Linked DNA regions of Homo sapiens: all the other regions are linked to region 2. The links are contacts of gene promoters, found by promoter capture Hi-C in human tissues and cell types (Jung and others, 2019). All regions are on one chromosome and are shown on one strand. Each heading gives the region's core, a stretch centred on a gene start or on the middle of the fragment in contact. The rest is flanking DNA. Distances are from core to core; before and after follow the strand shown. Region 1 holds the start of DNAH10OS (dynein axonemal heavy chain 10 opposite strand). Region 2 overlaps EIF2B1 (eukaryotic translation initiation factor 2B subunit alpha). Region 3 holds the start of PITPNM2 (phosphatidylinositol transfer protein membrane associated 2).

The links. Contacts are between HindIII fragments. The study calls those that stand out against the background at their distance.
Region 1: a contact is called between the fragment with the promoter of DNAH10OS here and a fragment that was not itself captured in region 2, in 4 of the 25 tissues and cell types used here (bladder, dorsolateral prefrontal cortex, lymphoblastoid cells and 1 more).
Region 3: the fragment with the promoter of PITPNM2 here is called in contact with a fragment that was not itself captured in region 2 in 3 of the 25 tissues and cell types used here (aorta, dorsolateral prefrontal cortex and heart right ventricle).

What each region holds. Positions count from the first base shown.
Region 1 is chr12:123,933,699-123,936,448 of GRCh38, forward strand. It overlaps DNAH10OS (dynein axonemal heavy chain 10 opposite strand), which reads right to left and starts at 1,286. Exons shown (of 2, transcript NR_187476.1): 1 at 367-1,286. DNAH10 (dynein axonemal heavy chain 10) reads left to right here. Exons shown (of 79, transcript NM_001372106.1): 78 at 923-1,068; 79 at 1,637-2,016. The coding sequence ends at 1,783. CCDC92 (coiled-coil domain containing 92) reads right to left here. Exons shown (of 5, transcript NM_025140.3): 5 at 1,928-2,750. The HindIII fragment of the contact is 2,982 bases long and covers 242-2,750 here.
Region 2 is chr12:123,621,307-123,624,057 of GRCh38, forward strand. It overlaps EIF2B1 (eukaryotic translation initiation factor 2B subunit alpha), which reads right to left. Exons shown (of 9, transcript NM_001414.4): 8 at 1,330-1,455; 9 at 1-614. The coding sequence ends at 450. Among named protein-coding and RNA genes, the nearest start is that of SNORA9B, 6.0 kb to the left of the region's middle. RefSeq lists an enhancer at 71-1,270. The HindIII fragment of the contact is 7,939 bases long and covers 1-2,751 here.
Region 3 is chr12:123,149,648-123,152,347 of GRCh38, forward strand. PITPNM2 (phosphatidylinositol transfer protein membrane associated 2) reads right to left here and starts at 1,443. Exons shown (of 26, transcript NM_020845.3): 1 at 1,106-1,443. It also overlaps a transcript of MPHOSPH9 not described here. RefSeq lists silencers at 997-1,086, 1,187-1,326, 1,347-1,606, 1,627-1,826. The HindIII fragment of the contact is 7,714 bases long and covers 1-2,700 here.

The DNA.
Region 1 (2,750 bases), core at 36-2,535, 310 kb after region 2:
GGAAGTTTCTCTTCCACTTTCTCCGTTGAGACCTGGGGTCTATGGCAGGGGAGACCTGAACCATGTTCACTCTGCTAGCTCATGGCAAGTGGGCTCCTAGGTCAGAATTAGCTCTTGCAAAAACCATCAGGTGGCTTTCTTGTAACCCCTGACGGGGCCAGGGGCATGGGAGCCACAGAGCAGCATGGACTAACTTGGTTGGAACTCTTTGATTATGCCAGAACTTCAGGTCCCTTAGACATTGGTTACTGACTGTGCAAATGAGAGCTGGAAACTGCTGTTTCCCCGGGTCCATGTTGTCTTAGAGTTCTTTTAACTGCAAGGAACAAAAGCTCTTTTGAGATGGCTTAAGGACTGGGGACTTACGGTAAAGATGCAGGGACTCTCCAGGTCTCAGTGGCAGGGGAGGTGGCAGGTGTCCGGGCCACCACTCTCTCTGGGGCCACAGGAGTGTGTTCCTCTCTTTGCACATCTGCTGGGTCCTCCTCCCCGGAGACCACTTTCTCTGTGAGGCTTCGACTTCCTGCTCCCCAGCCACTTCGGCTCACAGGGTAGCTGGGGTTGCCATGGTGCCCATTCTGACTCTGGGACCATGCATCTTTCTAGCCTGGGGGCCCAGGGTGGTCTAAGTCCGTGGGCCTTGATGCCCCAGGAATGAGGATTCCTGGGGGAGAGGCCACCGCCCCACACCCATTTCTCTGGGCCATGGGGCAGGGCCACAGGGTCTCCTGTCTGGGCTGCTCCTCCACAGAGGGAAGGTGGGCAGGACAGAAATGCTGGAGAAGGGCCTGGGCTGTCCCCAATGCGCTGGGGAGGAGGCCAGCCAGTGGCCTGTGTGTCGCTGTGTGTGCGCCTGATAGAGCCACTCCGTGGCAGGCTGTGCATGCTCCAGTTGTATCCAGTCTCTGCCTTGTGTCCCTAGGATGCTTTGTCTCAGGACTGTACCTGGAAGGTGCTGACTGGGATATAGAAAAAGGATGTCTTATCAAGAGCAAACCCAAGGTGCTGGTTGTGGACCTGCCGATCCTGAAGATCATCCCCATTGAAGCCCATCGCCTCAAGCTGCAGGTGAAGGTCCCAGCCCCTCCTCTCTGACACCAGGGCCCTTCCTCTTCTGACTGTAGTTATGGCTGAGGTGGTTTCCAACAGTCCTACTTTTTAAAACAGGGGTGCCTAAGCTTTATGGGCTGGGGAGAGTCTTGGAGCCGTGATAAAAGCTACGGATAGCTGCTTCCTGGAAAAGGCGCGGCTGTATGTGTGTGTGGATGCCGGTCCTTCCAGAGGTGTCAGGCTCAAGCTGTGATCCTGTGGTCTAGACTAACCAAGGGGAGACTCCCTCCCTTCTTGCAAAATGCTGCAGACATTGCCTGAGTCATAAAGTGGTTCCCGCTGGTGTGGACAGCAGATGTCTTCTGCTCTGCCTGGGCCAGGACCCACTTTTAACCAGGGTGTCAGTGTGAAGCCAGGTCCCCGTGAAGCTGGCGGAGGGTGGCCCTGAGCAGCCCCAGCCTTGTGCGTGTTCTCAGGTGCAGTCTTGCACAGGGGCCCCTGCCTGTCAAGACTTACACTGCACCTCTGCCTTTATCCCTCTGCACCCTCTCTCCGTGGGGGCATCTCACCTGCCTTTCCCTTGCAGAATACTTTCCGGACCCCCGTCTACACCACCTCCATGAGAAGGAACGCCATGGGAGTCGGCTTGGTTTTTGAAGCTGATCTCTTTACCACGAGGCACATTTCTCACTGGGTGCTGCAAGGAGTATGCCTCACCCTGAATTCTGATTAACCTTTGGGTGAAGAAAACTGCTTAATGAATTCGGAGCCTGGGGTTGTCAGAGTGATCGGGTCTGCTGTCATTTCTTGGGGCCTCTCAAGAGGCAGGAGGGGGACTGACACTGATTTTTCATTTGAAATCAGCCACTTAAATCTCTTTCCATACAAATTAACCTGAATGGTTTTGTTTTTAATACTACTTTTTAAAAGGAATTTATATAATCAAAAAGTAAATATTGGAGAGTATTTTAAGATGTGTGGAGTTTTCTTTTCCTTCTCAGAGAAAACACTTGATTAGGCAAAAGTGCCTGGCATACATAGCATTGGCACAAGTGAGAATCCTAATGTAATTTCCAAAGGTGTGTTTTCGATGATCCAGGTCTGTTTCAGCAGATGCTCCTTTTTGGCAAGAAGGGCTGATGATGTCGGGCACAGAGCAGAAGTGACCAGTCACCTGGAGCCACTTCTCCCCCTTCCAGAACTCTCTGGCCCTAGCTTCTTTGGCTCTGACCTGCTACGGCGACTGTGAAGTTGTTGAGCTTAGTGTTTAGTTCCTGCATGAGCTTCTACCCCCAGCCTGCCTGGGTCTGTGTGGGGTCAGGTAAGGACACAGAACCTCCAGGACCAGTGGTCACTGGGCACCCCTTCCCTCTGTGCACCATGAGGCTGGCCTGGAGCCCTGGCTGGCCACCTGGAGGTGAGGGGTGGCTTCACTCCATGAGGGAGGAGAGGGGCTAGCACGGGCAGCACAGTGGGCAGGGGCCATCAGAGGCAAAAGCAGCTTCCCACAGAAGCTCAGGAGCGCAGCACATTCTAAGGACTAGCTCTGGGCCGGGAGGAGGCCGGAGTCGCTTCTGGGACCTGTGATTGCTCTCCCTCCTGCAGTCTCCTAGCCCTCCTTCAGGTGTTTGTTTAATAAAAGACACAAAACAGAAGGAAGGCAGGTTTAGAAAATAAAGTTTGTTGGGATCTTAAACATT
Region 2 (2,751 bases), core at 198-2,697:
TGTTTCTTGCCTCTTACAAGGCACCGCGTGTAACGTCCTGACCAGCTGTTGGTCATTTGTGGCAGAGGGGTGTGGCTGCTTTTCGCCTGCATCTCGCGTGCTTTAGGCAGATCAGTCTGGAGTGCAGGGGAGGATGAAGACAGGTGGACTTGGGCTCATCTTTCATCAGTTAAGTAGCCAATTATCTAACTTGTATTTCTGGAAACTGAAAAGGAAAGTTTCTAGAAACCGTAAGAACAATTTAAGTTGGGATTTAGAATAGCTGACACATTTTTAGATGGGACTGAAATGAGTAAGAAAGGTTCTCCAAGATGTATGATTTTAAGTCCTTACTCCATAAATCTTCATTAAACACATCTCAGTTTTGGCCTGACTCACTGGGGTGTCAAGCAGCTACTCACCCTGCCTCAACTACGTAAGCTGCACCTTGGCAGGAAAGGGCTCACAGGTTACAGATAGAGCTTGATGAGCTCATCGCTGACTGCTGAGGGTGTCAGCACGCCCAGGTCTGTAAACAGCAGAGTGATTAAGGAAGGGGCAGTGTAGTCGACCCACGGATGCTCCTCTTTGAGGTCTTGTCCAGTCTGCGCGACCTTGAGAGTGTCTGCCTTATACTGAGGAGAGAAGTACACATTAGTCGGCACTGAATATTTAGTGCTCTGACCTGGTAGGGCCTTGGTGTGAGTGATCAGTGTGCTACTTCCTGAGACTGCTCTCTGAAAATGGGAGAAACTAAGCTATGCAGGACACTAGAGACGAGGGCAGAGTTGTGGCCATGAGCCAGATCATGGCAGTGTGCTGGCTGAGAGCTGTAGTGTAACAAACTTAAATCCCATGTCCCCTCATTCTCATGCCGGATTAACTTCTCCAGACCTCTCAAGGGAAGATCGAGAGTCACAATAGAGAGCTTGCAGCGTGCCAGGGACTGTGCTAAGATTATCTTAGAATCCTCATGACCCTGTCAGATACTGCTATGCCATTTTACAGACAAGAAAACCGGTTCAGAGGTTGAAATGAAAGGACTTGCCTCAACTCGCACAGTTTGTAAGTTGTGGTGATGGGAGCTGAGCTCAGTTAAGCCCAAAGCTGGGACTTACCCACCAGCTTCGGGCTTCCTCTCCACCCATCTATGGTGCTACTTAAAGAGACTGAAAGACTGAAGTTCTAGGGACAAATGTGTGAGTCCAATCACCAATTTATCTTTGTATTCCAAGTGTTGGGGAAAGTAGCAATAGGAAGTGAAAAAATTACTGGAACATTCTTAGGACTACAATTTCCAAAGGTTTCTGTTTAGACTTTAGTACCCCTTCAAATATGTAAAACTCTTGCCTTAAACTTATCTGGGACGTCTTGCTGGTTTAGTGGAAAGAGCCGGACAAACTTGAAACTTTCTGCAACCACATAGAAAGGTTTGTTCTGTGCTTTGGCACACACAGCCATCTGGTTGGTTCCAATCTGGGAAGGCAGAAAATGGAATGGATGAGCTCTAGAGTGCATCTGAAGTAGAAGCCACAGAAAAGCGGGCCGGGCACAGTGGTGCATGCCTGTATTCCAGCATTTTGGGAGGCCGAGGTGGGTGGATCACCTGAACCCATGAGTTTGGGACCAGCCTAGGCAACACGGTGAGACCTCGTCTCAATTACAATAAAGGAACAATTAAAAAACAGCAATAGAAAGTTATGTATATAATATAGATATACATATATCTAATACATATATTAGATATATCTAATTCTGACTTTGGAATCAAAAAAATAAATGTTTCTCAAAGGATATAGAAACAGCCACTAGAGGCTGGATGTGGTGGCTCACGCCTGTAATCCCAGCACTTTGGGAGGCCGAGGTGGGTGGATCACCTGAGGTCAGGAGTTTGAGACCAGCTGGCCAATATAGGGAAACCCCATCTCTACTAAAAATACAAAAAATTAGCTGGGCATGGTGGGATGGGGGGTGCCTGTAATCCCAGCTACTAGGGAGGCTGAAGCAGGAGACTCGCTTGAACCCGGGCACTGGAGGTTGCAGTGAGCCAAGACTGTGCCATTGCACTCCAGCCTGGACAGCAAGAGTGAAACTCCATCTCAAAAAATAAAAAAATTTAAAAAAACAAGTGTTGGCAAGGATGTAGAGAAATTGGAACCTTTGTGCTTTGCTAGTGGGAATGTAAAGTAGTGCAGCTGCTGTGGAAAATCATTAGTTTCTGAAAGTTAAATATATAGTTACCATGTGACTCAACACTCTGCCTGCAGACCTCCGCCTCCCAGGTTCAAGCGATTCTCCTGCGTCAGCCTGCCAAGTAGCTGGGATTACAGGCACCCGCCACCATGCCCAGCTAATTTTTTGTATTTTTAGTAGATATGGGGTTTCACCATGTTGGCCAGGCTGGTCTCGAACTCCTGACCTCAGATGATCTACCTGCCTCAGCCTCCCAAAGTGCTGGGATTATAGGCGTGAGCTACTACGCCCGGCCTTATGTTACATATATTTTAACTAAAAAAAGCTTTCATGAAGCTTTTCTAAATTAAATAATGGAGAGAGAGATTGTAATAAATTGAGGTCAAATGTGCTCAATTAAAATGAAAACAAATGACAGGCCGGCCACAGTGGCTCATGCCTGTAATCCTAGCACTTTGGGAAGTGGAAAGATTGCTTCAGGCTAGGAGTTCAAGACTGCAGTAAGCTATGATCACTGTACTACACTACAGCCTGGGCAACAGAGTGAATGTGTCTCTATTTTAAAATATATATAATATT
Region 3 (2,700 bases), core at 193-2,692, 470 kb before region 2:
CTATAAAATAAGGCAGACGGTGATAAGAGTTACACAGGAGATACAGATAGCAGGCAGTGGGAGTTCAGAGCAGAGAGGAGTCTGGGGGATGGATGTTAGGGGAGATTCAGATGAAGGGGAGCACTTACTGCCTTCCCTCCAGAAGTGGGGGGTCTATCCTAGCAGCTCTGGTCACTCCCAGGTGGAGGCCGGGGAGAGAGCTGGTTGTGGACAAAGACAGATGTTCCAGTGAGGTCTCCTTTGAAGAATCCCGACTCTGGGTGGGGGAGGCAGGTAGGCCGGGGTGTTTGGAGAGGCACCCAGCCCACACTTCAGTGGGAGGGAGAGGAGTGCAGGATGTCTCTGCAGGAGCAAGTCGGTGGAAAGGGGACAAGCCTGGAGGACTTGCCTTGAAATGACATTTGCACCGCGCGCACTATGTTCACCTGGAGTGGCCGTTTGGGATTTCTTGCGGGGAGGCAGTGCACACTGGGGCGGGGGACACTGAACTTTCCCTCTCCCCAAGGCCCCCCGATCAGCCCTGCCACGGATAAGAAAGGATTCGGGGTGGGAAGAAGACAGAGCCGGCACCCCATTACCACACGAAGGGGGCACTGAGGATGGAGACGGGCCACACCCCAACCCTGGGCCCCCGACAAGCAGAGGCCACGGCCCGGGCCTGGGGACGTTCAGCTGGAGGCGGGAAGCAGAGAAGGCGGGCCGGGGGCTCACCTCCGCTTCCTCCCGATAGCCCCTTCCTCGCCCTGGCACCGGCACTGCCCACGCCTGCCCCCCGACCGCTATGACACTTGTCCCTGGCGGGGGTCCCCCACGCGGTCGCGACCGACGGAAATTCGGAAATCAGCGTTTCGGGCACGGATCCAGGGCCGGCGACTCACTGAGGCCAGGCTCGGGCGGTCTCCCGAGCGGGGCTCCCGTACGCCACACCCTCCTCCCTGCCCGGGTCTCCGCTCCCTCCTCCAGCCCCCGGCGGGCTGGAGGCTCGGCGGGCGGGCGGGCCGGGGCCTCTCTGGGAGCCGCCGCCCAGATCCCCAGGTCCCCGGCCAGCGCCCGGCACTGCGGGACTCACCGCGGGCCTGCGGAGCGGCCGCCCGGACGCACTCACCCCGCTCGGCGCGGCCGCGGGCTCTGTCCTCTTCGGGGCCCCGGCTGGGCCGCCGCCACCTCACGCCGCCTCACGGGGAGCGCCCGCCCCGCGGCCCCGGCCCGGCCGGCTGCGCCCCGCGCGCCCCCGCCGCCTGCTGGCCCCGGGCGAGCGGCAGAGCCCCGGCGGGCATTGCTCCCGAGCGTCGCAGGCGGGCGGCGGCGGCGCACGTGCTGGCGGGCGGCTCTCGCTGAGGCGGCCGCGAGCTGAGAAGGAAGCGCCGGGCGGGCGGCCGGGGCCGGCTGGACAGCTCTACGCCGCGGCGCCGCGGTGCCCCGCGCACCCCAGCGGCCGCTGCTGCCCGCGCGCGCCGGGCCGGGCTCGCATTCCCTCAGTGGCGGCGGCGCCTCCTCAGGCCGCGCGGGGGAGCGGCGGCGGCGGCGGCGGGGGCGCGTCCCTGCGGAGTCTCGGCCCGGCCCCGCCGCCTCCGCCGGAAGAAACCTCTCCGACTCGGGCAGCCCGCCTGGTTCCTCAGACCTGCCGCGGCGACCCCGCTCCTCCCCGGCTCGCCCGTGTCCTCAGGGCCCGGGACTGGACTCGGGGGCGGCGGCGCGGATCCCCGCCCCGGGCTCCTCGCCCACCGTCCGCAGCAGCCGAGCGCACTCGGGGGCGGGAACCGGCCGACTTGCGGCCACTGTGACTCTTAAAACAGCCTCATTTTAAAAAATGAAGTTTCTTAGGAGCGAAATGGTAAACCAGGGAGGGCAGAGCGCAGCGGGCAGCTCACCGAAGCCCAGCCCCGGGCGCGGTGCTCGCCACACGGTGGGTCCGCGCTCTCCCCTCAGGACGCCCGGGCCGCGGCCCAGGGAACGGCAGAGCCGGGAGCGCAGCCGTCCCGGTCCCCACCTCAGGGAGTAGCTGGAAGAGGATCACGAACAGTTTAATCCGGATGATCTGGCACGACAGGGCTCTCCAATGGGAAGAGCCCCCGGTGGGGGAGCGCCTGGTGACATTCCTTAAAAACATGAGGTGTTTGTTAGGTTGAGCCAGGGTGGACTTGTTTGGCAAAATCTGAAGTCATGGAACTAAAGAGAGCACACCTAAAACTTAGTGATGTGTGACCCATCCCTACTTGTCACCTTATAAGGCTGAGGAGACGGCGGTGCTCCCCTGGAGGAGAGAGGACAAGCTAAAATTAAGGCGGCCTAGATGACTCCAGATGAAGCCGGGGAGGCCGAGCCCCTGACAGCTGCTCACCTCCTGGGGTCACGGCAGAACCCAACTGAACGGGCCAGGAAGGCCATCGTTCCCGACTCGCCTCCAGGTGCCCCTGACCATGACCACGCAGAGGAGGACCAAGGCGTACCACCATCACCTAGAACGCTTCAGCTCCTTCCCTCCACCAAGAGGTGCCCTAGGATCCATCCAGAAAGATCTGCGGAGCCCACAGAGTCCCAACGGGAACTGTGCTCCTGGATGGACGCCCCTTAACCCATAACTCAAGGACTTCTCTATGCCTGGGACTTAAAATCACCAACAACCCGCTCCTGCAGCCAGCTAGCAGAAATAAACACACAAAGGCCACACGCCAGTTCACAGCCACAAGTATTTATTGA